Linked DNA regions of Homo sapiens: region 1 is linked to region 2. Evidence: promoter capture Hi-C in 16 types of primary human blood cells and fetal thymus (Javierre and others, 2016). All regions are on one chromosome and are shown on one strand. Each heading gives the region's core, a stretch centred on a gene start or on the middle of the fragment in contact. The rest is flanking DNA. Distances are from core to core; before and after follow the strand shown. Region 1 overlaps LOC105375508 (a long non-coding RNA gene). Region 2 holds the start of CPA4 (carboxypeptidase A4).

Region 1 (2,969 bases), core at 219-2,718, 560 kb after region 2:
GATTTCTGGAGCAGAAGGTATGTTTACTAGATGTGGAAACACTGTCCTCTGAAGTAGTTGCCCAGTCCACCCACTTCACAAGCAGTATGTGAGAGATCTTATTTCCCCACAACCTTGGCAATACTTGGTCTCATCAGACTTGGTTTTTGCCCATCTAAAGGTTATAATTCCATTGATTTTATACATAGTTGTCCCTCACTGTGAGATCCAGTAACTATTCATAATTACCTATACGCTTATAATTTCTTTTTTTCCCCCATTTAACTCCAGTATTTGTCTGTCTCTAGTTGATTGTAATGAATGCAAGAGGCTGTTGTGGAGTGTCAATGCCAGACCCCAAATAAGGGCAACACGGCTACTTAGCTTCTTTCTGAATTTAAAAGAAATGTATAGCTTTAATTTGGGAATTTAGAAACAGAAGCTAAGGTGTCTGTAAGCCTGTATTAGTTATTGTAGCCTTTACCTGCAAGCATCAAAGAACCATAGCAGCAGTGACTTAAACAATTGTGATGGGCATTTATTTCAAGCAATAAGAAGTCTGAAGCTAGTAAAGGAGGCAGTGGTGCCATCCTGGACCCAGGCTCCTGCCATTCTTCTCTGCCACCCTTAGCTGTAGGCTGTAATTCTCACGCTCCTCATCTCACGGTTGCAAGATGGCTGCCGCAGCTCTAGGCTTCACATCAGCGCTCAAGGCGGAAGGAGCAGTGCTTGAGTAGAAACACAAGAGCTTTCACATAAATACCTAGAAGCCTTTTGTCAGCATCACTAACCAGACCTGTGTCACAGGCCACTCAGTGTGTTAGGCAAGTATTTAATGGGATATATTTTCCGTCGTCCTCTGAACAAAATTGTATTCTGTTAGGATGGGAAAAGGGAAGAAGGGAATTATCTGCAACAAGAGTTATTTGGAATGTGGATTTTAGAGACATAATTTTTTCATAGTAGCATCAAATTGGGTGAATACTGGGAAATTATTCAGAGATATATACCATCCAGAACAAGAACCACCACCACAGAACACACAGTCGCCACATTCCATTGATTTATAGGCTGCTGTTTTGTTATTTTCCACTATCTATTAGGTATCTAAATTTCACTTCTCTTTGTTCCTTTTTGCCAATTCAAAAGAATTTAAAATGTTAGAATGAACAAATACTAATGAGGCGCATGTTACCTAAGGATGAGTTTTCAGGCATTCCTTGTGCCACAAATATGAAGAAAACGGAATCATTATAGGCTCTAGGGTGCGGTAGAGAAGCACATGGGACTAAAACAACTTGGATTTGTCATTTACTGTTTTGTTTGTAGGACAAGTCTCTTTTAGTGTCTCATATTATTGACATAACTCATGAATGCTTTTTTCCAGAGTTGATCACACTTAACAATATGTGCAGGCAGGACCGAAAAAAGGTGTGGTGCCTTCCAGCCCATAAATCAAAGGTGAGTCATGAGAATGCTGTCCATTAAACAGGAAGGAGGAGATTTGGATATGGAAGTAGGACATGCATTAGATTCCACAGCAATTAGGCTTTTCCATAAAAGAAGCATCTGCTTTTGGAACTTGAAAATAGAATAAAAGAGGAGCATTTAAAGGAGTTCTTGAAGAAGGCACACCAAGGTACTCGACTAATTGTAATTAGCTAATGAATACCTCCTGTAATAAAGCCTGAACTGTGGAAGGGAATCATTGATCGGCTTCCCAGGAACACCCTGTCACTGTACTGTACCTGCAGTGTATCAGCATTCGGACACAGACAGTGGGTGTGCAGATGTGTGTCTGTGTCATTTGGTTTTATTCATTTATTGCAGTTTCCATTTTATATATTATTCTAGTATAGGTCAGAGAAGCAAAGAGTCATCTACTCTCAGGGGCTTGTTTAACATTTTACATACCCAGTGGAAGGATTTCCCTTCTAACTTTGCTAGATTCTAAGCCTGAAATTAGAGGGAAAAAAAACTTGAACTATCTATTTAAATTCCATATCCAAGTCTGATCTATTCCACAGGAGTTCTTATCCTGAAGGAGCATGGCAGCAAATCAAGGAACAAAACTTAAAGCTGACTGTCCCTTTTTTTCCCACTGCTCTCTACCTTGTAGGGTGACAGAGAAACTTTGATGGGATGTTCAACTTCAGTAATTTTGACTCCTTTTATTTTTATTAGGAAATAATATTTTCCTTACAATATATAACAAGTATTTTCTCCATTGTGATTTTCCTTATGTCTGAGGACCCAGAGATCCTTGGAAGTCAGGCAGAGATGAGTTCAAATCCTGACTCTGCCACTTAGTAGTTGTGCAACCCTGACTGTATTACTCAGCCTCGGCAAATCTCCATATCTTAACCTGAAAAATGGGGATAATAATATATGTGTTTTGCAGAGTTTGTTGTGAAGATTGAGTGAGATTAGGTAAAGTGCTTAGCACCATGCCTGGAATTACTGAGTGCTTAAATGCAAACTGCAGATTAGTAGGATTTCATCTGTGACTTAACTTCATGTACTTCTTTAGGAAAGCATGTATTTTGTCACATGGGGCAAGTACTTGATTATTAACAAGAATGGTCTTCCTCAACTTCGTGGAAGCAGTGCACACCTCAACACTGTGCATTGCCTCCACGTTTGTGTACATGTACTTAGGAAAGGGAGCTAGACATTCTCACCTTCATTGAGTTGCTGTGAGGGTAAAATGAGAGTTTGCATTTCATACCTGACACACGGGGGACTCAGCAGATGTTAGCTCCCTTCCACTATGTCCCCCACTTTCTGAATCAGTCTGTACTTCCATAAATGTATCTTTTCTCTTAGAAGGGCCATCGAGAGGTGGAGGCAGAGAAATGATTCTGGGGCCAGGGGTCTTCCTCCAGGGCCCTTGTAGTCAGATTCTTTCCTTGTCTTGGACGATCACTCAGATATTTGGATTAACACAGCTAAGAGATACAGTGGCTCTCTCCATTTCACAGATTAGCAGG
Region 2 (2,874 bases), core at 375-2,874:
ACAGGGTGGGTGTAGGAATTCAGTTGAAGTGTTGAGAGGACAAAAGGACCCTGAGGGAGCAAGAGGAGATGATGGCCCCTAGCTCCACAGCTCCTAACAAAGGCTCTCTCTGGGACCACACTTGAGATTCTGCACCCTCCTTTTGATTAGGCTGGTTCTTGAGCCCTGGCTAAGCCAGCCTGAGCAAAGATCCTGCGAAGTCATCCCTCCCACCTTGATATCTGATCAAGTTCCTCATCCCCACCTTTGATGGGGACTTTGATGTATAAGTCCTTGGCCTGCTTTTAGCAAGAATCCCCCTACCTTGATGTCTTCTCTTAGTAATCCCACTGATCCTCTCTGTTTTCTTTGCCGTATTCAGTGTTAAGCACAGTAAGTCTTTCCTACTGAAATAGCCATGGTCCTAATCATAATAATCTTGAATTAGGTCTTACATTTTAACACAGGTCAGGATAGTTTTTCTTTAACTCTCTCAACTATGACCCTTGGTTGTGTCCACTCCCTTTGAGTGGGTGTGGAAAGCATGTAGACCGTAGGGAGGGTGGGATGGGAAAGGCTGTGGGAACTGGGGCTCCCAGGACAGACTCAAAGGTCCCAGAGCCCCTGAAGGCGTTATGGAGATATGAGTGTCTTCCATTTATTCAGCTGTGACTTGGCGGAAAGGACACCAGACCCACAGTCTAGGAAGTATAAGAAAATCTTATTATTTATTTATTTATTTATTTGAGATGGAGTCTCACTCTGTCGCCCAGGCTGGAGTGCAGTGGTGCGATCTCGGCTCACTGCAAGCTCCGCCTCCCAGGTTCACGCCATTCTCCTGAGTAGCTGGGACTACAGGCGTCCGCCACCACGCCCGGCTAATTTTTTGTATTTTTAGTAGAGACGAGGTTTCACTGTGATAGCCAGGATGGTCTCAATCTCCTGACCTCGTGATCCGCCCACCTCGGCCTCCCAAAGTGCTAGGATTACAGGCATGAGCCACCTCGCCCGGCTGAAAATCTTATTATTGATAAAACCATTAAGCCTTCCCCATAGATCAGACCCCAAGGAACACTGATAATTTATTCAGACTAAAACATCCTTTCTATATCATTTGCCTGATACATTTCTATTTCCTTAGTGGAGTCAGAAGAATTAGGCTTCAGATACATAAAAGAGGCCCCAAACCTCTTTCCTCATCCTGACCTGCCCTGGTGAAATTCTCTGGCAGGGCTTGTCAAGCATGTGGTCTTGGAGCCAGCTCAGTCTTGCTTTGATAGTCTTAACTTTTTTATTATTATTCTAGAGGTAATTCTATGCCAGGTTTATAATCTGACCTCTCCTATCAGGATAAATTCCATCCAACACTGTGGAATTAGCTTATTCACTGAAAAAACACTATTTAAATGCCAAGTGATGAGCAATATGGTACCCTTGGCACAGACTTTTTCAGCTCCTGGAGCAAGTTCCTGACCTTGTAAATTGAGATGCTCAACCTTTATCACTTGAAAGGAATGGGAGAGGCATTGGTAGGGCCTGCCTGTCACAGTCAGAGTTGCAAGGGTGCTTGGGAATCACATTAGCATTTTTGAGGACTTGAGTCACTCTCAGACTCTTTATAAATACAGCTTGACTCAGCCACTGTATGACTGACTCCCCGGGGACATGAGGTGGATACTGTTCATTGGGGCCCTTATTGGGTCCAGCATCTGTGGCCAAGAAAAATTTTTTGGGTAAGTTCCTTTTGGACTTATTATTTGGTTATTTCAGAAATATGGGAGCCAAATGGAACTGAAAATGAATGGCTGATAATAGCTCACATGGAGGAAGAAGACCTGGGCTCTTGTTCCAGCTTTGCCCCTGTGTCATCCTGGACAAGTCCACTCTCTTCTCTGAGACCCCATTTCATCTGTGAAATCAGGACTAGATGATCATTGCAGTCTCTCCCCAGCTCCCTCATCTCCTGCCAGTTCTTTTTCTGCCTAGTTCTTACTTATAAGGTCAGTTCCAGGCATCTACTTTCTTACTCCTACCTTATTAATTACTAAGAGTTACTGGTTACTAAGAGCTACGTTATTAATTACTAAGAGTTACTGGTTACCAGAAATGGTTTGTTTCCAATTTCCGCCATGCATAAAGGGAAACCCTGGGTCTCAAGCTTGTTGGTTTCACTTCTTTGTTAATGGCGAAGGCTTTGCAGAGCTGGTGCCTTCTCTTGATCTGCAGTTTAATGCTCTACCCCTGAGCTACACCCTCTTCTGAGCTGGTGCTTTCTTACTGGCTTCTGGGACGTGGAGATTTCACAGGTCTTGCCTAGACACAGCTATGAAAATGACATGCAGAGACACATGCCTGAACACCGTGTGTGTGTGCGCGTGTGTGTGTGCACACACACACGTGCTCAACACGCTCCATGCAGAATACTTTGAGGTTTGCAGGGGAGAGGACATTTGGGTGGTAGGAGAGATAAAAGGGATACCATGGTGCCCTGTTAGAAGACTGAATTATAATAACTCATTACTGCATAATACTTTACCATTTGCAAAGAGCTTTCATGTACATTATCTTTTTGATCACACAACAACTTTGCCAGGCAGGGGTGTTATTTTCTTCCACTTAAACATGAAAAAAATCAGCCTTAGAATGTTAAGGAACGCGCTCAAGGCCACTTAGCTGGGAAGCAGGGGAGCTGGAACTCTGAACGTAAAACTCGTACCCTTTTGCTATAACACAAGTTCATCTCCAAATAAAATCCTATATCTCTTGGATCTGTCTCTTAGTTTTCTTTCTATTTTACTATCTGGCTAATGAGACTTTGGGGTTGTTTTTTGAGGTAATTACTTATATGAGATTGACTAAGTTTTATGATGATGACTTCTGTTCACACCTGTGTCT

The links. Contacts are between HindIII fragments. The CHiCAGO score rates a contact against its expected background, and 5 or more counts as called.
Region 1: a contact is called between a fragment that was not itself captured here and the fragment with the promoter of CPA4 in region 2, in 1 of 17 cell types (erythroblasts). The highest score is 5.5, in erythroblasts.

Annotation. Positions count from the first base shown.
Region 1 is chr7:130,852,357-130,855,325 of GRCh38, forward strand. LOC105375508 (a long non-coding RNA gene) reads left to right here. Exons shown (of 4, transcript XR_927978.3): 4 at 1,367-1,595. Among named protein-coding and RNA genes, the nearest start is that of MIR29A, 23 kb to the right of the region's middle. RefSeq lists an enhancer at 665-1,864. The HindIII fragment of the contact is 6,604 bases long and covers 1-2,969 here.
Region 2 is chr7:130,291,537-130,294,410 of GRCh38, forward strand. CPA4 (carboxypeptidase A4) reads left to right here and starts at 1,625. Exons shown (of 11, transcript NM_016352.4): 1 at 1,625-1,712. The coding sequence starts at 1,645. RefSeq lists an enhancer at 2,030-2,119. The HindIII fragment of the contact is 9,413 bases long and covers 1-2,135 here.